Regions from separate parts of the Homo sapiens genome. Here all the other regions are linked to region 1. The links are contacts of gene promoters, found by promoter capture Hi-C in blood cells and fetal thymus (Javierre and others, 2016). All regions are on one chromosome and are shown on one strand. The core of a region is centred on a gene start or on the middle of the fragment in contact, and the rest is flanking DNA. Distances in the headings are between cores, read along the strand shown.

What was found. Contacts are between HindIII fragments. The CHiCAGO score rates a contact against its expected background, and 5 or more counts as called.
Region 2: a fragment that was not itself captured here is called in contact with the fragment with the promoter of MESTIT1 in region 1 in 14 of 17 cell types (megakaryocytes, naive CD4 T cells, naive CD8 T cells and 11 more); the score reaches 25.8 in megakaryocytes.
Region 3: a fragment that was not itself captured here is called in contact with the fragment with the promoter of MESTIT1 in region 1 in 2 of 17 cell types (megakaryocytes and M2 macrophages); the score reaches 9.6 in megakaryocytes.
Region 4: a fragment that was not itself captured here is called in contact with the fragment with the promoter of MESTIT1 in region 1 in 6 of 17 cell types (megakaryocytes, endothelial precursors, M2 macrophages and 3 more); the score reaches 12.6 in megakaryocytes.
Region 5: a fragment that was not itself captured here is called in contact with the fragment with the promoter of MESTIT1 in region 1 in 2 of 17 cell types (endothelial precursors and M1 macrophages); the score reaches 11.5 in endothelial precursors.
Region 6: a contact is called between a fragment that was not itself captured here and the fragment with the promoter of MESTIT1 in region 1, in 1 of 17 cell types (megakaryocytes). The highest score is 7.3, in megakaryocytes.
Region 7: a fragment that was not itself captured here is called in contact with the fragment with the promoter of MESTIT1 in region 1 in 1 of 17 cell types (megakaryocytes); the score reaches 6.3 in megakaryocytes.

What each region holds. Positions count from the first base shown.
Region 1 is chr7:130,489,420-130,492,369 of GRCh38, forward strand. MESTIT1 (MEST intronic transcript 1, antisense RNA) reads right to left here and starts at 1,558. Exons shown (of 2, transcript NR_004382.2): 1 at 1,423-1,558; 2 at 1-548. It overlaps MEST (mesoderm specific transcript), which reads left to right and starts at 2,666. Exons shown (of 12, transcript NM_002402.4): 1 at 2,666-2,920. The coding sequence starts at 2,895. RefSeq lists a silencer at 1,494-1,703. The HindIII fragment of the contact is 7,997 bases long and covers 1-2,133 here.
Region 2 is chr7:130,239,775-130,242,724 of GRCh38, forward strand. No RefSeq gene overlaps it. Among named protein-coding and RNA genes, the nearest start is that of CPA2, 26 kb to the right of the region's middle. The HindIII fragment of the contact is 4,580 bases long and covers 1-2,950 here.
Region 3 is chr7:130,258,950-130,261,899 of GRCh38, forward strand. No RefSeq gene overlaps it. Among named protein-coding and RNA genes, the nearest start is that of CPA2, 6.4 kb to the right of the region's middle. The HindIII fragment of the contact is 1,051 bases long and covers 943-1,993 here.
Region 4 is chr7:130,276,493-130,279,442 of GRCh38, forward strand. It overlaps CPA2 (carboxypeptidase A2), which reads left to right. Exons shown (of 11, transcript NM_001869.3): 7 at 136-246; 8 at 1,334-1,424. Among named protein-coding and RNA genes, the nearest start is that of CPA2, 11 kb to the left of the region's middle. RefSeq lists an enhancer at 1,577-1,871. The HindIII fragment of the contact is 8,075 bases long and covers 1-2,950 here.
Region 5 is chr7:130,699,964-130,702,913 of GRCh38, forward strand. No RefSeq gene overlaps it. Among named protein-coding and RNA genes, the nearest start is that of TSGA13, 15 kb to the left of the region's middle. The HindIII fragment of the contact is 749 bases long and covers 1,160-1,908 here.
Region 6 is chr7:130,298,056-130,301,005 of GRCh38, forward strand. It overlaps CPA4 (carboxypeptidase A4), which reads left to right. Exons shown (of 11, transcript NM_016352.4): 2 at 691-772; 3 at 1,215-1,349; 4 at 2,761-2,859. Among named protein-coding and RNA genes, the nearest start is that of CPA4, 6.4 kb to the left of the region's middle. The HindIII fragment of the contact is 7,030 bases long and covers 1-2,950 here.
Region 7 is chr7:130,326,844-130,329,793 of GRCh38, forward strand. All of the region lies in intron 1 of LOC105375503 (a long non-coding RNA gene), which reads right to left. Among named protein-coding and RNA genes, the nearest start is that of CPA5, 16 kb to the right of the region's middle. The HindIII fragment of the contact is 3,071 bases long and covers 2-2,950 here.

The sequences.
Region 1 (2,950 bases), core at 308-2,807:
GCTCCAAGTGTTTTATACCTTGGGTCAAATTCTCCCCCTGCGGAGGAAGCTCCTTTCTGGAAGTAAATCAGGCACATTTAGAAGATTCGTTAACTCTTTGGCTCCTGGGGGATTATGGCCAGCATTTTCTCTCTTAGACTTCCCACAGCGAATTCCTGGTTGGGCCAAGCTGATATCTTTGAGCTGACTTCTGTACTCAGGGTTCTTCCAAACAGGAATATGCTTTCTCTGCCTAAGATCTGGGTTCCATGCCCATCTCAACCTCAATCCCTCCTTCAAGGAAGTTTTTCCTAACTCCTCGGCCAGACATCAATAATGTCTGAAGGGAGGATTTCTCCCGAGTGCCAGACTTGGAATTCCTGTTGTCTTCAGGAGCTCTCCCTGGCGCTCCCTCCTTCCCCCAGGGCCTTTAAACTGTTTCTCCTCCAGTCTGCCCACTTGATCCATGTGGGTAGACATGTTCCATGGCCTTCAGAATAAGATCTTTTGTGGGGTACTCAGTCCATAAACAGAAAATTGCCTTCATCTTGGATGCTGGTGTTTCTGGCCTGGTGAGAATGAAAGTGTGGAATTTGTTTGTAGGACTCAAAGTTTCCATTAACAATAAATATGAAAAATATATAATGCAAAGGCTTTTGTTATTGTTATTATTAAAATAGGAAAGCCTTTACCTTTTTGGAAGAACCGATTTAGATTTTGCAGAGTAATTCAGTCTTTAAAAGGTAGTGGTAGTTAAAATAGGTAATCTTTGACTTGTAAAGAGACTAATTTAAATTTTGTTAAGTAACCAATTAAGGCCATAAAGAGTTTAAATCCATCTGTGGCTTCTCATTTTCTCTAGAACAAATTCCTAATTCCCTACGATGAAATTCTCTTGCTATCCTAATTTTTTGCCGGCTCAAAGGACTAACCGTTTTCCCCAAACACGCGGCCCTGAGCCTCCGGTGCTTTGCGAAAGCCGTCCCCTCCGGCTGGAATGTTCTTTGTCTCTCTGGTAAATGTCTATTCATCATTCAAGACCACCCTTCGCCCCTCCCCTTAATTACTTCCTCCCCTGTGCGCCCTCAAATTCTTGTACTCATTCAAGCAGTATTTATTAGGGGCCAGCTTTGTGGCCGGCACCGTGGCGGGCTCTGGGGCTACAAAAGGTGAATAATACTTGGGCTCTGCCTCTGAGGGCCTTACACGTTAGGGAGGAGTGGGTCAACTGCCACAAACGTCGCTAGGAAATTAAAAGGAAAATTTTACAAAGTGGCAGTTCTTGTCTGTCTTCCCCTCCAGATGGCCCGTGTGTTGTTTTCGGGCCGGGGCTATTTCTCATTTATTTCGCACCCCCGGTTCTTAGTGCCCTGTAGGTGCTAAATCAGCATTTGTTTCATGAGTGCTTTTTCTGGGGGCAACCAGACCCCTGCAGAAGTGTACCTGTGTTGTGCCAGAGGTTCTGATGATAGGCTTATAGGCGGTAGTTTCCTCAGTGTCCGTGGGTCGCCCCCGGTCCCGGGTTGGATGCCCCGCGGTCCAGCACCGAACCTTTCGGGGTGCAGAGTTGCAGAGCCGCGGAGGGCCCGGGCCGTGCGCAGCCGAAGGGAGGCCTGCAGCGCCCCCTCTGGATGCAGCGGGCACCGGCCGGCCGCCCCGCTCACCCGCTCGCACCCCACGTTTGTTCACCAGTATTTCAGTTTACGGTCAGAAAATGAACACAGACACTTCGTGATACTCTACACTTTTCAAAGGCGTAAGGGATGCCTTTTAAAGGATTATGGATTAGAAAAATTCCTCCCTCTTTCTTGTGCCTCTGGGCCCTTGCATTGTGATTCTATCTTACGTAAATAAAGGGGGCTTTGCTCTCCTAATTGTGCCCACTGTTCTGTGCAGCGCGGACCGGCGCATGCAGCGAGCGGGGCTGCGAGGGCGCTGCTGTGGCCAGGCGTCTGGCATGCTGACCACGTCGCGCTGCTGTAAAGGAAACCTGCCCCGCGCAGCGGCGGTGGCTGGAGCGGGAGAAACCGGACTTTGTGCAACTTTGGCCATAGTGGCCATCCCATGAATCTGTTTACTAGCTTGGTGGTGGGTCCAACAGAGCTTGTTGCTCCCTAGCCGCTTGCTCGTGCCCTTGGTGGTTACCGGTAGTTAAGCTTAGGGCGCATAGGGCCCTCGTGGCTCGCCACCTCTCACGGTTCAGTACCCACGCTTCGAACGAGGGATGGGAGCAGGCGCCACGGCCGGCACCCCAGAGCCCTGCTGCCCCTTAGTTCGAGCGGCCATCCTCCTGTGGGGCTTGTGGGCAGCCTGTGGGGTTTGTGGGCGGCCTGTGGGGTTTGTGGGTGGTCTAAGGAAAGAGTTGGGGCACTCAGGGGTCTGCTGTTTTTGCCCGTGGCCTTAACTCATCAGGGGAGGGTTTCTGCAGCAGAATCTCGGGCTCAGGGTTGGCGGTTAACGAGGGAGCAGCGGGGTCTTGGGGAGGGGGCTCGACACCCCTGAAGGTGCCCCCTAAAGGAGCCACTGTTAGAGGGGCACCCCATCTTTGTGGCCATGGCGGTGGTAGAGCGGCTGGGAGGGGCTCTGCGGCGAGCAAGGGAGCAGGCGGTAGGGGTTCTGCGGCGATGGGCGGGCTAGGGGCGGGGCGCGGGTGGGCTCTAAAAGTCGGTGCCCACTCGCTCCGCGCTGCCGCGGCAACCAGCACACCCCGGCACCTCCTCTGCGGCAGCTGCGCCTCGCAAGCGCAGTGCCGCAGCGCACGCCGGAGTGGCTGTAGCTGCCCGGCGCGGCGCCGCCCTGCGCGGGCTGTGGGCTGCGGGCTGCGCCCCCGCTGCTGGCCAGCTCTGCACGGCTGCGGGCTCTGCGGCGCCCGGTGCTCTGCAACGCTGCGGCGGGCGGCATGGGATAACGCGGCCATGGTGCGCCGAGATCGCCTCCGCAGGTGAGTGTGCGGTGGGAACGAGGGGGTGTG
Region 2 (2,950 bases), core at 264-2,763, 250 kb before region 1:
TAAATTGGACCATATGTATAGTCTATTTTAAAAGGATAAGCTGGTTAATATATACACAGAAAAAAATTCTGGTGAAATATACTTCCAACTGCTATTTATCTATCTATCTACCTATCTATCTATCTATCTATCTCTCTATCTATCTATCATCTATCTATCTATTTAGAGATGAAGTCTCACTCTGTCGCCCAGGCTGGAGTGCAGTGGCACGATCTGGGCTCACTGCAACCTCCACCTCCTGTGTTCAAGAAATTCTGTCTCAGTCTCTTGAGTAGCTGGGACTACAGGCGCACGCCACCACGCCAGGCTAATTTTTGTATTTTTAGTAGAGACAGGGTTTCACCATATTGGTTAGGCTGGTCTCGAACTCCTGACCTCAGGTGATCCACTAACCTAGGCCTCCCAAAGTGCTGGGATTGCAGGTGTGAGCCACCGTGCCCAGCCCCAACTGCTATCATCAGAGGTACAGATTGAGACAGGAGAGGGGGACAATAATCATTTTTTGGGGGGTTATATTTTTCAGTGATGTTTGAATGGTTTTACTATGAAAATATTATTTTAGAAGCAGAAAAAAATAAAAGCACACAAAGGTACTGTCAAGGAACAATATTTCACCAAATAGAGCTTTAAAAATCTGATCGGCTTTTATTAGTGATTTATGAATTGGGCAGCATCTCATCTATGAAACAGAAAGGTGCTTTGGTGAGAGCCAAGCAGAGAGGGTTGGTTATGTAGGCAGAAAAAGGCTGAAAAGAGCAAAAACAAGGAGGAAAAAGTGCATTGATCATTTCAAAGTTACTTTCCTTATAGGGTTAAAGCAGAGGGGATTTTCATATCATGCCAACTCAGGTTGACTGGCCCCTTTGGATTAAATGCTGTGAATCTCTTGTTCTTTGGAAAACCAGCTGGTTTCTAAATTTAGTTTGATTATGTGGCACCTAGCATGAGTGACGCCATTCTGGTTTGGTCTGGTCTGTTGGGGCCTAGGGCAGGAGCTCAGTCCAAAACAAGGACCTCCCACAAATTTTATTTAACAGCATATACATGAATATTCTTTTTAAGATACTTTGAAATAGTGAAAAATTGAGTGCAGTAAATAAGGGATTGGTTAAATACAGTATACTCACATAGTGGAATACAATTGAGCTCTCCCCAAAATACAGTGTAATCCCACACAGAGAAAAATAACCAACATGGTAAAACCCCATCTTTACTAAAAATACAAAAATTAGCTGGGTGTGATGGTGGGCGCCTGTAATCCCAGCTACTCAGGAGGCTGAGTCAGGAGAATCACTTGAACCAGGGAGGTGGAGGTTGCAGTGAGCTGAGATCGTGCCACTGCCCTCCAGCCTGGCGACAGAGCAAGACTCTGTCTCAAAAAAAAAAAAAAAAAAGAAAGAAAAAAAAAGTAACCAATAACAACAATATGCCTTTATATAGATCAAACTGTTAATTATCTCTAGGAATATTTTAACTTTCTTAGTAATGTCTATAATATTGTAATTGTCAATATGCCACGTGAATTACTTTTACAGTTGAGATAAAAGGTTATTATTTAATGCTGGTTGAAACTGGGAATTTTATGATTTTTGTCTAGCTCTTGAGAAGCAACTACCTCACCCTGTTATATCAGGTAAGTCTATTGTTTATTTTTATTTATTTATTTTTTTGAGATGGAGTCTCGCTCTGTAGCCCAGGCTGGAGTGTGGTGGCTTGATCTTGGCTCACCGCAACCTCCGCCTTCTGGGTTCAAGTGATTCTCTTGCCTCAGCCTCCCGAGTAGCTGGGATTACAGGCATGCGCCACTGCACCCGGCTGATTTTTGTATTTTTAGTAGGGATGGGGTTTCGCCATGTTGGCCATGCTGGTCTTAAACTCCTGACCTAAGGTGATCCACTGGCCTCGGCCTCCCAAAGTGCTGGGATTACAGGTGTGAGCCACTGCGCCCGGCCCTATTGTTTAATTTTTATGCATTAGGCTTTCCTATGCATTTCCAGGAACCTATTATGATACAAGTAGACTGTGCAGATATCATTTTTTTCCCTCTAGACCAATGCTCTCCAATAGAAATTTATTGCAAGCTACATATGTAACTTTAAATTTTCTAGTAACTACATTTTAAAAAGAGCAGGTGCAATTAATTTTAATACTATATTTTATTAACCCAATATATCCAAAATATTATCATGTGAACATGTAATGGATATAAAAATTATTAATGAGATATTTTACATTCTAATTTCCACACTAAGTCTTTTAAATCTGGTGTGTGTTCTACTTACAGCATATTTCAATTTGAGTGCTAAATTTTCAACAGTTAAAATGTTGTCCTACCAAAACAATAAGGTATGTATGCATTTAAAGGAAAAATATTTCACTCTGCTTCAGTTTTTAAATGTAAGTTAAAATTAATTTAAAACGTCACTAGTGTGACCAGTCACACTTGCACATTTCAGGTACTCCATAGCCACAAGTGGCTGGTGGCTACAGCATTGGGGAGTGTAGATATAGAACATTCCACTGTACAGCTGTGGTCTAGACATTGAGCTCCAGGCAGATACAATCTCTTACTCATCTTCAGGGCTCTATGACTTAACAGTGCCTGTTACACAGTAGGAACGCCATAAATGAAGAACTCATTCATAGATCTGGGACTGAGATCATCATGAGCAGCACACTGATTAAGGGTGAAAAGACACACCTTCACAACATGGCCATGGATGGCCCTATTTACCTCCTCCTGAGCAGGACAAATAGTTAATATACGTGGAGGGATTTTGGTGTTGCAGACAGCAAATTATTTGTGGAATCTATTTGTTCTTCCCAACTGACTTAATATAAAAAAGAATTTGTATGATGGAATTTTAGACTCAAGATTGTCTTTGGTACAAGGCGGGAACCCGGTGTACCTTGGGACCAGGGGACTGACACAGTGGTTGTCTGCTGGGGG
Region 3 (2,950 bases), core at 218-2,717, 230 kb before region 1:
AAATTCTAATGTCTGAGTATATGCTATCAATCACAATTAAGGTTGTTATGTATTGTAAATCACGGGGATAACCAAATTTCTTTGTCAATCATGTTTCTGACTGTAACTACCCTGGACATTTTGTTATTCACAGACGATTTTGTCTTGTTTTGATCCTCTTCAAAAGATGATTATAATCAGCTATAGAATTTTGACAGGTGCTCTCAAATGGAGGTTTCTGATAACTTTGGACATTATGACATTGGAATAAAGGAAAAACATACAGGACTCATGAAGAGCCGAAATGTTCACGAATATCAAGCAAAAAAAGAATTAACCAAATTGACTAAACTAATAGAGAATTAAAATAATCTTTTTGACTTTTGCTTGGAAAATTGCTGATCCTTGTTTTCTCAGAGTCAAGGAAACTTATTTTGAACTATTTATGGCCTTTAATAATTCAGTAAGCTATCCTCCTGTGAACAAAATTTGGAGCATGTTTGTCTCCCTTTCTCTGCCTGGCTTCTCTGGAATTTGGTTTTGTTTTTTTCTGTTGGAGATGGAGTTTTGCTGTTGTTGCCCAGGCTGGAGTGCAATGGCATGATCTCAGCTCACTGCAACCTCCACCTCCTGGGTTCAAGTGATTCTCTTGCCTCAGCCTCCCAAGTAGCTGGGATTGCAGGCACCTGCCACCATGCCCAGCTAATTTTTGTATTTTTAGTAGAGATGGGATTTCACCATGTTGGCTAGGCTGGTCTTGAACTCCTGACCTTAGGTGATCCACCCACCTTGGCCTCCCAAAATGCTGGGATTACAGGCATGAGCCACTGTGCCAGGCCTAGGATTTGGAAACTAGTTGTGAGTATTTTTAACTTATGGCAATATAGTTGTTTGCCTCAGTGCAATAGGAATCCATTTTCTTTTGCAACAGGATGCGATTGGAGAAACTGGTTGTTTTACCAAAGCTTTGATTGGATGAGTATGCTTCCCTTTAAGGAATCACGCTCAACTTGCAGAGCTGATAAAAGCCCCTTGGGAAAACTGGCCTCATACCTTGTCTACACATTCCCTGTACAGGGTTCCTAACCTGTGGTGAGTAAAGAATGTCGCATTCCAACAGGCCCAGGAACCACATGTTCTTGGGACCTCAAGAAGGGAGGAGTTTACCCAACTCACAGGTATTTGAAGGTACAAACCCATGGCTGGGCTCAGCTTTAGAAAGTCCTTTCTGAGATTCCTTGTGGAACAGAGTTCCAACAAAACCAGTCTAAAAGGGTTATACAAAAATAATTATTCTTGTTGCATTTTATGCAAATAATCAGGCCAAGTATCAGACTAAAGTCTATTTTGCAAACAACTCAGTCCTATCTTGATATGTTTTTAACAAGATGAGGACTGAAGAGAGAGAAATTATGTTTTAAAATTTATCATATATTTGTCATTAAATTCTAGACTCATTAGTTGTTTTTAAGTTCTTGCCTACATTTTATACTAACCTTGCTTTTTCTTGTGAACTAACCAGAAATCCCTGGCTGCAGCTCAGAAAGGACAAAAGGGATGGATGATGTAAAAATCTGGATCAATACTCTAGTTCTGAGCAATTATTCTGTGAATCCTGCCAGGTGATGGGAATAAATAGAATGCCCATCAACCAGAGATTTCCTTTTTGGGAAAGTAAGACCAAGGGAGTTAACTAAAGCCAAGCCCCACATACCTAAATCTCAGCAAGCATAACTATAGCCACCAATTATCTGGGCATGTCACAGGACATCCTTTTCTCTCCCTTGTTCGAGGAGGGCTTGATTCCATAGTTTCACCTTAGCATTCAACTTATGATAAGGAGTCCATGCAACACTGCCTCCCCCTTCCAGAGACACATTTTTGTCCCAAACTCAACTCCGAGCTTTGGATTGAAGCCCTAGGAAATAAAACTGGGTCTGAGGGATCCAGAGGCAGATGATAATGGAAGTTAAAAGGCACAGCAGAGTGTGACTGATTCCTGCTGATTAATCCAAGCTTCCTGTTTGATGGATAAAGGTTATGTTAGTATCCATGGCATAAATGAGGTCTAGAAAACTTGAAGACTACTGACAGCAGATGAGATAGGGCATATGTTGGTAAGAGCGGATATTGCCACCCCCTAGGCCCCCCGTTAACATGAGTGAAAGCCACTTTGACACCCATGGGTGGCACTCTGTCACAGTTGCCAGGAGGAACACCTCACTTTCTCTCTCCCTTATGTACCCTGGATATTTTCTAGGAAGAGAAGGGAACCTGGGATGCCTCGCTCCCCTCTTTCTAGATGAGTAGCCATTCATCTTCAGTCTGCACCACTTTCAAATGCATCCTGAACCCCTGGGGCTCCTTTGAAAAAAAAGAAAGCCTTCTTTTTTCCTTTTTCCTTCTCTGTGCTGTCTTCACTGATAGGTAATTGTGTCTCTGTACTACGATATACTCTCCTTGGATACATCTTCCAAACTGGAAAAAGTTATTTGCCAAACCTTAAACTCATTGGCTTAGGACTGGGCTTGGGGGATGAGAACCCAGAAGCCTGACATGCTGGCAAAAGGGTAAAACCTTTTTATTATCAGTCTGGCTTTTGGCCTGCCTCTCCTTGTGCAAACTGGTAAAAGGCCTTTTGGTTTTTGCACTGTTCTTACCCTCCTTTATTTCATTTTGATACATGTTTTCTAATAACCCAGGTTGTCTCTTCTCACCTTCAGGCCCTCAAGCTCCAAAGGATCGTGCAACTTGGGACTTGGACGATTTCCCCTTTTCCTGGGGACCCTTAGATAGGCCTCTGAGGGAGATCTGACTGCCGTTTTCCTAAAACAGCACCCCCTGTCAGCATGAAGCAGTTAAGATTGGTCTTCATCCTTATCCTTATCTTTGTTTGTTTGTTTTGTTTGGTTTTTTTGAGATGGAGTCTCCCTCTGCCGCCCAAGCTGGAATGCAGTGGTGTGATCTTGGC
Region 4 (2,950 bases), core at 161-2,660, 210 kb before region 1:
TGGATGCCTAGAAGACTTTCCTTGATCAATAGTGATCCCTGGTTCACATCTGGAAAAAACACTACCTTACTATTCTGTCCTGTGTTCCCAACAAAAGCGGTGTGTGAGGTTGACATGTATCTTGTCTTTGCTCAGATTGTTTCTGATTATGGAAAGGACCCATCCATCACTTCCATTCTGGATGCCCTGGATATCTTCCTCCTGCCAGTCACAAACCCTGATGGATACGTGTTCTCTCAAACCAAAGTAAGCCTGGATTTTGTTCCCTTCTTCAACAAGGACCTAAGGAGATGTGTAGGAACTTCAAAAGCAAAATAAAAATACTCATTCTTTTCTTGATTTACTCTAAATGGAATGTCTAATTTCTCAGTAGTCACCCGGAAATGAGGGTTAGAGAAGTGGTTATAATCACTTCTTATTCCAACACATGATGTCTTTATATGTTGCCTCAGCCAGAGCCCATTTCAGCTGTTAGGCTGGGCTATTAGAGCTCAGTGTTCACCATGAGTCATCTAGGAGATTTGTTCCAATTATCTCTGCAATTTTTTGTGGTAGGATTGATAGAAAAGAGGAGGCGGATGTTACCTGCTGACAATTAGATTGCAGTAGGATTTAGGTGGGCAGTACAGTACATCTAGCATTTTACTTAAAATCTGTGGGAGAAATCCTCCATAATATCACTTAAAAGAGTTACATGGTTTTTTTTTTCCCTTAAAATCTCATTACAATACACTATTGTAGCAACCATGACCCCACATATATTCAAGATGAATGACAGCTTCAAGTTTATTTTTAGAAAGAGCTAACTACGGTAGCGTTTTCAAAGACATTTTCAAAGAAACTGATACTAATACTAGTACTCATCCCATGAGATACCATATGAATCAAGGGTTCCATTGTCAAGACCAGGAAACACCGCCCACCGTATCCGTTTCTTAGAGGTTTATAAAAAACAAGGCATTAACAATCCTTAGAAGTTCTGAAGTAAGTTTACCAAGTTAGCTCCATATTTTCCCCAAATAGGCTCATTGCAGAACCCTCTCTTCTGCTTTTGGTTCTTGCTGTTGGCCTTGGACAGAACTAGGGTTCCATGGCACGTGTTTGGCAGGCGTTCATTTGAGGAGATGGGGGCGTATTCATGTCTCACTTTGGTGAGATGGCAGAGAAACTCCTAGCAGAACCTGTATGAGGACTGTCCAACACCTCCCCAAGCCAAGGGAAAGGAGTGTCCCAGAGAACTAGGGAAATTGACAGAATTCTAAAGGAACCTTCTGATCAGGCTGAATGACCCTCTTTCTTTTTTTCCATGTGCTTTTTGGGTGGGATCTGAAAGAATCGTATGTGGCGGAAGACCCGGTCCAAGGTATCTGGAAGCCTCTGTGTTGGTGTGGATCCTAACCGGAACTGGGATGCAGGTTTTGGAGGTGAGCGCAGGGACTTGCCCCCAGGGATGGTCAGCCCGTGGTCTGGCCCACAAGCTGGTTCAAATGGCCCTGCAGTGCATCAGCTGGCTAAGCCCATCCAGGATTTAAGCCATTTAAAAACCTCTTTGAAAAACACTTAACTAAATTCCCTTCACAGGAGCACAGTGCTGTCACAGAGCTCTGAGCAGCATTTAATATATTTTGTCTCACATCTTGGTTTTCCCACAAGCTGTCGCCCGGTTAGCCTTCTGTGCAGCGGGAGCAAGACTTTGCACAGTGGCGGGAGGACTCGGGAAGCCCTGAGCCAGCCACTAGAGGGGGATAGGATCTATTCCAAGGAGAAGCATTACATCATCTATGGATGCTTCGAGAAAGAAAACTAAAAAGAAGTACATACACACAGGATGGAGAAACTGACTTTCAAAACAGATTCAAATATAAAATGTGAGCTTGCTGCCCTGGCTTTGTGACAGCGCTTATGTTTTGGAGTTCCGTGTCAGGCTAGTTAGGGGCTCCTTTATGGCCTCAGGTACTGGTGAAAACCCCTTATGTTTCAGTAACCATAGAATTAAATTTTTTCCCCCTCACTAGGCTATGATAAAATTGAGGTCAGGAGCTGTGTCTTTTTCACTGTAGTATTCCTAACACCTAGCACAGTGTCTGCAACGCAGAAGGTAATCACTATGTATTTGTAAGACAAATTAATTAATTAGAGTTATGGAACTAAGACAGGACTGTAGAGAACTGCTACAGGATATGGATGAGTGGCAACTTCATTCATTGCTTTGACAATTCTTCTTCTTTTTTTTTTAGTGTAGTGGAAAAATAATTAAAGCACAATACTGAGCAATGGCCCACAGTTCAATGTCAATCCCCCCGATATTATTTTCATTAAATAATTTTAAAATAAGGTGACGTTTTGTCTGTATCACATGGGGAGCCTAGGGAATCCTGACCCCTACTCATCCCCTGGAAGTTTCTCTAGCAGTGAGAGCCCTGGCCAGGCCTACAATGGACCCATTTCAGTGGTCTTGAGCCACTCTAGTTGCTGAGAAAATCAAGGCCAAAGGTGGCCTTGTTGTCAAATGTAGTCATGATTTCCTCATTGCAGAAAGGGTGTCAGAGGTTCCTTGCATTTCTGGCTTTGTGCCTTGGAATTACAGATGCATAGAATCTTCTACTGTTGGACTCTAAGAATTGGATGAGATCCCAGAAAATGAACTTGCTAAACTCCCACCCAATGCAGGAATTCCATCCATAATATTAAATCTAGCTTTTCTTCCAATAACTCCTACAGAGAGGAGATGATCTAATTAGATGGCTCTTTCTACTGTATAGAGGAACCATATTTTTTGAAGAAGAGATGTGTCCAGAATCACTTCAGTTAGGCTTTCTGACTATAACCTTTGGAAGAGACTTGATCTAACACAATGACAATCTTGCCCCGACTTCCAGAGGAGAAAATTAGTGATGCATGGTGACCTCCTCCCTACAGTGTCTTCTTAGAGCTCACTGTCCTCACTGGG
Region 5 (2,950 bases), core at 284-2,783, 210 kb after region 1:
TGTGGGCAACTAAATATTCTCCTTATGAACCTCATGTTATATTTTGGGGGAATATATGTCTAAAAAATAAAAATGCTGGGTCATAAGATATATTTGTTTAATATAATTTGTCTGAGAAATGTCAAATTGCTGCCTGTAATCTCAGCACTTTGGGAGGCCAAGGCTGGCAGATCACCTGAGGTCAGGAGTTGGAGACCAACCTGACCAACATGGAGTTGGAGACCAACCTGACCAACATGGCAAAACCCCATCTCTACTAAAAATACAAAAATTAGCCGGGTGTGGTGGCTCGCACCTGTAGTCCCAGCTACTCGTAAGGCTGAGGCAGGAGAATTGCTTGAACCCGGGAGGCGGAGGTTGCAGTGAACCAACAGAGTGCCACTGTACTCCAGCCTGGGCGACAGAGTGAGACTTTGTCTCAAAAAGAAAGAAAGAAAGAAATGCCAAATTGCACTCCACAATGGCTGCCTCTTTTAAATATCTGCTTTGAAGGATTGCCCTTGGGCTACTGGAGCCACTTATCCCAGAGAATAGGAAGTGTCTGGGAGATTAGGTACCCCCAGTACATCTGTAGTCAATGGACCACTGCAGTATAAGGATGAAAGCCCAGCTCCTTTGCCTTAGACTCTTTCAGGCTGAGGCATAATTTCCTCTCCAGAACTCCCTTATAGGATCAGATTAAGGCTAGGACTCTGTCTGAAATACAGTACATCTTTCTTTAGTTTCTTCTATTTTTCTGTCCTTCATCCCCAACTTCCTTACCAGTTTATGCTGGGATGACTTTCTTAATAAGTTATTTGAAAATAAATCTATGTCTCAAGATTGGCTTTTGGCGAACATGAGCTAAGTCACATTGCCCCATCCACACTTAGTATCATTCAACTTTCTAATTCTTCCCTATTTCACTGTTGTTTCAATTTGCATTTCTTTGATTATTAATGAGTTTAAACATTTCTTCATATTTATCAACTTTTGGTTCCTTATTTAAATGCTGATTCATATCTTTTGCCTATTATTTTAATGAAGTTGCTGACATTTTCTTGTGAATTTGCAAGATTTTGTTATATATTCTAGATATCAACCCATAGTCAGCTTTAAATGGTATGAATAATTTTCTTTAATTCTATTAGCTGTCCATTAATTTTTTCCCTGGATAGAAAGCTTTTGTGTGTGTGTGTGTGCCTCCACCAAGATTTTTTAAATTAACTATTTTAAATTCAGTGACATTTAGTTCATTTGCAGCATTGTGCAACCACCGCATCTATCTAGTTTTGAAACATTTTCTTCACTCTAAAGTAAAACCTTTTGCACATTAAACAGTTTCTCCTCTTTCTCTCTAACCTGCCAGTACCTGGCAGCCACCAATCTGTGTTCTATCTTTATGAATTTATCTATTCTGGATATTTCATACAAATGGAATCATACAATATGTGATCTTTGGTGTCTGGCTTCTTTCACTTAGCTAATGTTTTAGAGGTTCATCCATGTTATAGCATGTATTAGGTACGGTACTTCATCCTTTTTTTTAATCACTGAAAAATATGCTTATGAATATACTGCAATTTGTTTATCCACTCTTCCACTGATAGACATTTGGGCTGTTTCCACCTTTTGACTATTATCAATAGTGCTGTTATGAACATGTGTGTACATGTGCTTATTTGAGTGCCTGTTTTTATTATTTGCAGCATATAGTGCTAGCATTTACCTAGGAGTGTAAATGCTAGATCATATGGCTAACCATTTTACATTCCCACTAGCAATGTATGAGGTTCCAATTTCTCCACATCCTTGCAAACATTTATTTTCTGGTGGTTTTTTGTTGTTGTTGTTGTTGTTGTTGTTTTTGTTTTTGTTTTTCACTTGTAGTCATCCCAGTGGGTGTGAAGTATTACCTCGGTGTTGGAAAGCTTTTTTGATGTAAATAGGTTAATTAATGTTTTGACTTATGGTTGTGTTTTCTTTTTTTTTTTTTTTAATTTATAAACTTTATTTAAACTTTATTTTTTTTTTCTTTTATCCGTAAACTTCTTTTTTTTTTTTTTTATTATACTCTAAGTTTTAGGGTACATGTGCACATTGTGCAGGTTAGTTACATATGTATACATGTGCCATGCTGGTGCGCTGCACCCACTAATGTGTCATCTAGCATTAGGTATATCTCCCAATGCTATCCCTCCCCCCTCCCCCGACCCCACCACAGTCCCCAGAGTGTGATATTCCCCTTCCTGTGTCCATGTGATCTCATTGTTCAATTCCCAGCTATGAGTGAGAATATGCGGTGTTTGGTTTTTTGTTCTTGCGATAGTTTACTGAGAATGATGGTTTCCAATTTCATCCATGTCCCTACAAAGGATATGAACTCATCATTTTTTATGGCTGCATAGTATTCCATGGTGTATATGTGCCACATTTTCTTAATCCAGTCTATCATTGTTGGACATTTGGGTTGGTTCCAAGTCTTTGCTATTGTGAATAGTGCCGCAATAAACATACGTGTGCATGTGTCTTTATAGCAGCATGATTTATACTCATTTGGGTATATACCCAGTAATGGGATGGCTGGGTCAAATGGTATTTCTAGTTCTAGATCCCTGAGGAATCGCCACACTGACTTCCACAATGGTTGAACTAGTTTACAGTCCCACCAACAGTGTAAAAGTGTTCCTATTTCTCCGCATCCTCTCCAGCACCTGTTGTTTCCTGACTTTTTAATGATTGCCATTCTAACTGGTGTGAGATGATATCTCATAGTGGTTTTGATTTGCATTTCTCTGATGGCCAGTGATGATGAGCATTTCTTCATGTGTTTTTTGGCTGCATAAATGTCTTCTTTTGAGAAGTGTCTGTTCATGTCCTTCGCCCACTTTTTGATGGGGTTGTTTGTTTTTTTCTTGTAAATTTGTTTGAGTTCATTGTAGATTCTGGATATTAGCCCTTTGTCAGATAA
Region 6 (2,950 bases), core at 287-2,786, 190 kb before region 1:
CCTACATCCAGCCTCAGCACCATGGGCCATAGTCAGTTTCCACCCAAACGAGCCTCTGTGTGGGGTTCTGGAGCTGGAAGGGACTGAGCGAGCACCCAGCCTCGCCTGTTTTAAGACGGCACAGCTCACCCTCCCAGCATGGAGATGCTGTTTTCTTTCCAGCATGGAGGTTCCGTCAGGGTTTCAGTCCTCAGCCCTGACAGTGAAGAAGTGCTTCTTTATGTCTTGAGTTAGCTTTGCGTGTAACTCAGGCACATTCCTTCCTGTAAAATATATGTGTTTTTCATTATAAAGTAATATGATCACATTACAGAAAACAGATACAAGGGGGAAAAAAGTAAGTCATCCATAATCCCACGACCCGAACATAAGGGCTGTCAGCATTTGGTATATTTCCGCTGTCTGTTTTTCTTCCAATGCATCTGCTTTTTCCATACTTATAATCATGGCATACATACAATTTTGTGTCCTGCTCTTTCACTTAATATTTCCCTTAAAGTTATGCCATAAGCACTTTTTCATAGTTGCCATGTAGCCTCATTTTTAATGGCCATACATTAAAACCAAAGACTAGACCATTTCCTTTCTTTTGGCCTGGTTACGTCTGGGATAGGAGGCTTGGGGGTTTCTTTGCCAGCTGAAAGCTCATCATTATCTTTTGCTCTTTTTTCCTTTTCGCTTCTTCCCCAGGGACCAAGTTTTGAGGATTAATGTCAGAAATGGAGACGAGATCAGCAAATTGAGTCAACTAGTGAATTCAAACAACTTGAAGGTACCTGGTTCTTTTTAGCTCTCCTGAGTGTTTTCTAACTTTGCTGGGAGAAGACTCTTGCTCTACTGGCATTATTATTTTTATTTCTGAGGAGTCTCTGAATATAATCCTGTGGGAGTCCACTTGCCATTTATACAATTGAGGGGGCTGATGGGAGAGAGGGAGCACATCACAGCTGTGGTGTCCTGGGAGAGGGGATGCTTGAACAGTATAGGCTCCATCCTTCTAGCTGCCATCCACTTATGACTCTTGGTCTCTGCCAGATACTGCTTGTTGGGCAGGTCCAACCAGACACAATTGTGAAATGGGCAAACTTTGCCCTTGGGCAGAGCCTAGCCTCTCAGGGATCACCCTGGCTTTTGGCAGTGTTCTAGAAGAATAACCTCATTGTGCATTTTACCTGAACGGTCCTTTAACCTGGTTTCATTTCTGTTCCCTTCAGCTCAATTTCTGGAAATCTCCCTCCTCCTTCAATCGGCCTGTGGATGTCCTGGTCCCATCTGTCAGTCTGCAGGCATTTAAATCCTTCCTGAGATCCCAGGGCTTAGAGTACGCAGTGACAATTGAGGACCTGCAGGTAGGTAGACTATGCCTCCTGCCTCCTGCTCTTGCATAGGACCAGGCAGCCAGTCCAGAGTAGACCGGAGTGATTTGCAAGTTCTGGTTTTATCCTTTTCTATTTTATAGACCAGGAAATGGAGGCAAATGGAAGTAAAGTGCAGTGACTTGTTAGAGGAACAACATTTTGTAGTAGAAAGGGCATAAATAGGCCAGGGAACCACACAGATTTGGATCCAAATCCTGATTTTGCTAACTACTAGTGCTATGTGCTGTGTCTTTGGACAAGTTATTAACCCGCTGAGCCTCCGTTTCTTCATCAGTAAAATGGTGATAGTGAGACCTTCGTCATGTGATTTGTTGAGAAGACTCAGGATTAAATGTATGTAAAATGTCTAACAGTGCCTGGCATATCCTACGTCTGCCATTAAGTCATAAGTCCCTCTTTCTTTCCTTCTTTGAAGTCCTTCCAGGTGGCAAGAGCAGAGATGAGGGAGGGTGTTGGGGACCAGCCACAGAGGCACCCTTTGAGACAGGGGGAATGTCATGGATAGCCCCAGCAGAGGGAATGCCGTCCTCTGGCCTCACGACCTGTATCTGAACATCAGGACAGGGTCTGGCTCATGCTCTCTCCTTCACCGAGGTGGGTTATGGACTAATTGGTGATCTGGCCTGGGAGTTTCCTGATGGCGTTAGCAGCTATGAGCTTATTAATCATCCTCACATGTCACAGACATCTGCCAGGAACCTTCAAAGCACGAGTGGTTATAAGAATTTCTTTGTTTCTGAATGGTTTCCCAAGCTGTGTATTTCAGAGGCACTGGATACCAGATGCGGGCTGATGTCTACAGAGTTCATACTATAGGATAGCCAAAGAGCGCATATGTTGCTTCCAGGGAGTAAGTGGGTTTTGAATGAGGCCATGTAAATTGGGCCCCAAGAAGTAAATTTTTTTTTTTTTTTTTTTTTGAGATGGAGTCTCTCTCTTTCGCCAGGCTAGAGTATAATGGTGCAATCTCGGCTCACTGCAACCTCTGACTCCCTGGTTCAAGCGATTCTCCTGCCTCAGCCTCCCAAGTAGCTGGGACTACAGGCACGCACCACCACGCCCAGCAAATTTTTGTATTTTTAGTAGAGACAGGGTCTCACCATGTTGGCCAGGATGGTCTCGATCTCCTGACCTCGTGATCCGCCCGCCTCAGCCTCCCAAAGTGCTGGGATTACAGACATGAGCCACCCTGCCCAGCCAAGAAATAAAATTTTATAAAGATATGAAAGAAATCTAACCCCCTTTTAAACCTTGACATTTGTGCTGCTTGATATGCTGAAAGGGCCGCCATCTTGGCTGACCCATATGCAAAGATATGGCAGAAAAAACATAAACCTGCGTCTGCAATGGATCACTTCACAACATTGCTGTGTGTTTTCAGGCCCTTTTAGACAATGAAGATGATGAAATGCAACACAATGAAGGGCAAGAACGGAGCAGTAATAACTTCAACTACGGGGCTTACCATTCCCTGGAAGCTGTAAGTGTTTCAGAGTGGGTTAAGATCAAGGTTCTCTGCCTCCTGAATTTTGTAACCTCTCTCCTTACTTCCAGGAGACATTAGTCTTCAG
Region 7 (2,950 bases), core at 287-2,786, 160 kb before region 1:
AAGCTTAGCTTTTGTCTTAGATTCTGCTTTTTCAGGTGTTTATTACGTGATTTTTTTTTTTAAAGTAGAGACAAGGGTCTCCCTATGTAGCTTAGGTCAGTCTTGAACCCTTGGCCTCAAGTAATTCTCCTGCCTTGGCCTCCCAAAGTGCTGGGATTACAGGTGTGAGCCACTGCACTCAGCCTATTATATGATTTTTTTAAAAACCTAATTAAGTAGCTAAATAAATAATTAAAAGAGGACCATGCGGCTGGGCATGGTGGCTCACGCCTGTAATCCCAGCACTTTGGTAGGCCGAGGCAGGCAGATCACGAGGTCAGGAGATCGAGACCATCCTGGCTAACACGGTGAAACCCCGTCTCTACTAAAAAAAAATAGAAAAAAAATTAGCCAGGTGTGGTGGCGGGCACCTGTAGTCCCAGCTACTAGGGAGGCTGAGGCAGGAGAATGGCGTGAACCCAGGAGGTGGAGCTTCCAGTAAGCGGAGATCATGCCACTGCACTCCAGACTGGGTGACTCGGCGAGACTCTGTCTCAAAAAAAAAAAAAAAAAAAAAAAAAGAGGACCATGCATAGATCAATGATGAGTGTGCCACTAACCATGGATTGTAATTAATCTATTTCTATGGACTTGAAAACCAATTTTAAAAATGTTTACAAAGATACTAATTTTAAACAAAAATTGTACTATTCAACATGCATTTATTGAGTACCTACTATGTGCTAGAGACAGTTTTTTTTTTCTTTTTTTAGAGGCAGGATCTGGCTCTGTCACCAAGGCTGGAGTTCAGTGGGGCAATCATAGCTCACTGTAGCCTCAAACTCCTGGGCTCAAGCGATCCTCCTACCTCAGCCTCCCAAAATGCTGGGATTACAGGCACGAGCCACCACACCTGGCTCTTGAGACAGTTTTATTATTTTATTATTGCAAGGAAGAAGACAAATCTTTTATTGCATGAAATTTCATTGTAGTTGGAAAGACCGGAAGTACTCAAGTAAACAACTAAATTAAGAAGTTAATTTGGGTGAGGAGAGCTGCGATAAATAAAAGAAAACAGACTGCTGTCAGGAGAGTGATGGGTGGTAGGGGAGCCCGTCTAGATTTGGAAAGCTAGGGAAGATAGTATTATAAACTATTCTTAACTTTATTCTCTGTATTCTTTGTTTACTTCCTCAAAACATGTAAAAAAGGTGGGCTAGACTTTTTATTTTGAGACAGGATCTCCCCTCTGTCACTCATACTGGAACGCAGTGGCACAACCACAGCTCACTGCAGCCTTGACCTTCTAGGCTCAAGCAATTCTCCTACCTCAGCCTCTGGAGTAGCTAGGCTAATTAAAAAAAAATCTTTTGTAGAGATGGGGTCTTTCCATGTTGCCCAGACTGGTCTCAAACTCCTGGGCTCAAGTGATCCTCCTGCCTTGGCCTCCCAAAGTGCTGGGATTACAGGCATGAGCCACCGTGCCTGGCAGCGACTTAAATTTCTGAAGCACATTTAAGTTTGAAAGGCTTTCATACCTCATCAAATTAGTCTGTAGGGAATTTTCCACCAGTAAGACATCAAGGAGGGTGGAAAAAGTATAGTCTATCAATAATGGGGAAAAATGTCTTGAGTTCTCTTTTTTGCAGTAATGGAGAGGATGGGTTTCTCCGAGCCACCTCCAGGTGTTGCACCCAATTCTCTTGGGGCCCAAAAGAAGATCTTTGTGAAGTAGCTGACAGAATGAGGGGTATATTTGGGATTAGCTGTTGTCCAGTTGACACCAGAGCCCTTCATTGGACTGTAACCCCCTGAAGGCAGGGAGCAGACCATAGCCACTTCTGTATTCTGGGTCACTGGTGGTGGAAAGCCGTGGAATGGACCAACTTTTTCACCGACACATATGACTTTGGCCCATGAGATAACCTCTTGGCTCCTCAGTTTCTCACCTTTAAAAGAATAACGATAGTATCTGCAATGACTTATCAAGAGAATTAACTAAGAGAATATTAAAGCATTCAGTTATTTACCTGGCAGTAGAAGCTCTTGATATGTGTTAGAATTATTTTCAGCTGGCACACATTTACCTATGCAACAAACCTGAACATTCTGCACATGTATCCTGGAACTTAAAGTGAAATTAAAAAAATAAAAATAAACAAATAAAAGAATTATTCTCAGCTGGGCCTGGTGGTTCACACACCTGTAAGCCCAGCATTTGGGGAGGCCAAGGTGGGCAGTCTGCTTGAGCCCAGGAGTTTGAGACCAGCCTGAGCAAAAGGGCAAGACCCCGTTTCTACAAAAAAATACAAACATTAGCCAGGTGTGGTGGCATGTGCCTACAGTCCTAGCTACTTAAGAGGCTGAGATGGGAAGATGGCTTGAGCCCAGGAGGTTGAGGCTGCAATGAGCCACGATCACACCACTGCACTCCAGCCTGGGTGACAGAGTGAGACCCTGTCTCAAAAACAAACAAGCAAGCAAACAAAAAAGAATTATTCTCACTGAGTGGTGGAAATTCATTTATAAATCAGGTCTTCAGCATTTTCCCTAAAGTGATAGACTTATTTGCTTCAGATTGTTCATGAAATGTAATAACAAAGATCTCAACAGATCACAGAAAAACACTAGCTGGATGTTAAGTAATTTTTATTATTATTTGGGTTTGGAAATATTGGGGTTCTTTCTCTGGGAGCTTTCCCAGGTTCTATAGGTATCGAGTTTCCTTTACGAAATTAAGACAAAGGATCACTGCCTGAAACCTTCATAGGTCCAGCTTCCAAACACAACCACATCAAACATAGGGGGTCACTGGGTTTTACAGGTCTTGGAAAGGCCCTGTTGTAAATCAATTTTGGGTAATGTTGACGGCCTGTTCCAACTCTGGAATGTCCTATGTAGATTGCACTTCTTTTGTGTTACTATAGAAAGACTACGCAGAATCATTTTTATCATTATCATCATCATCCTT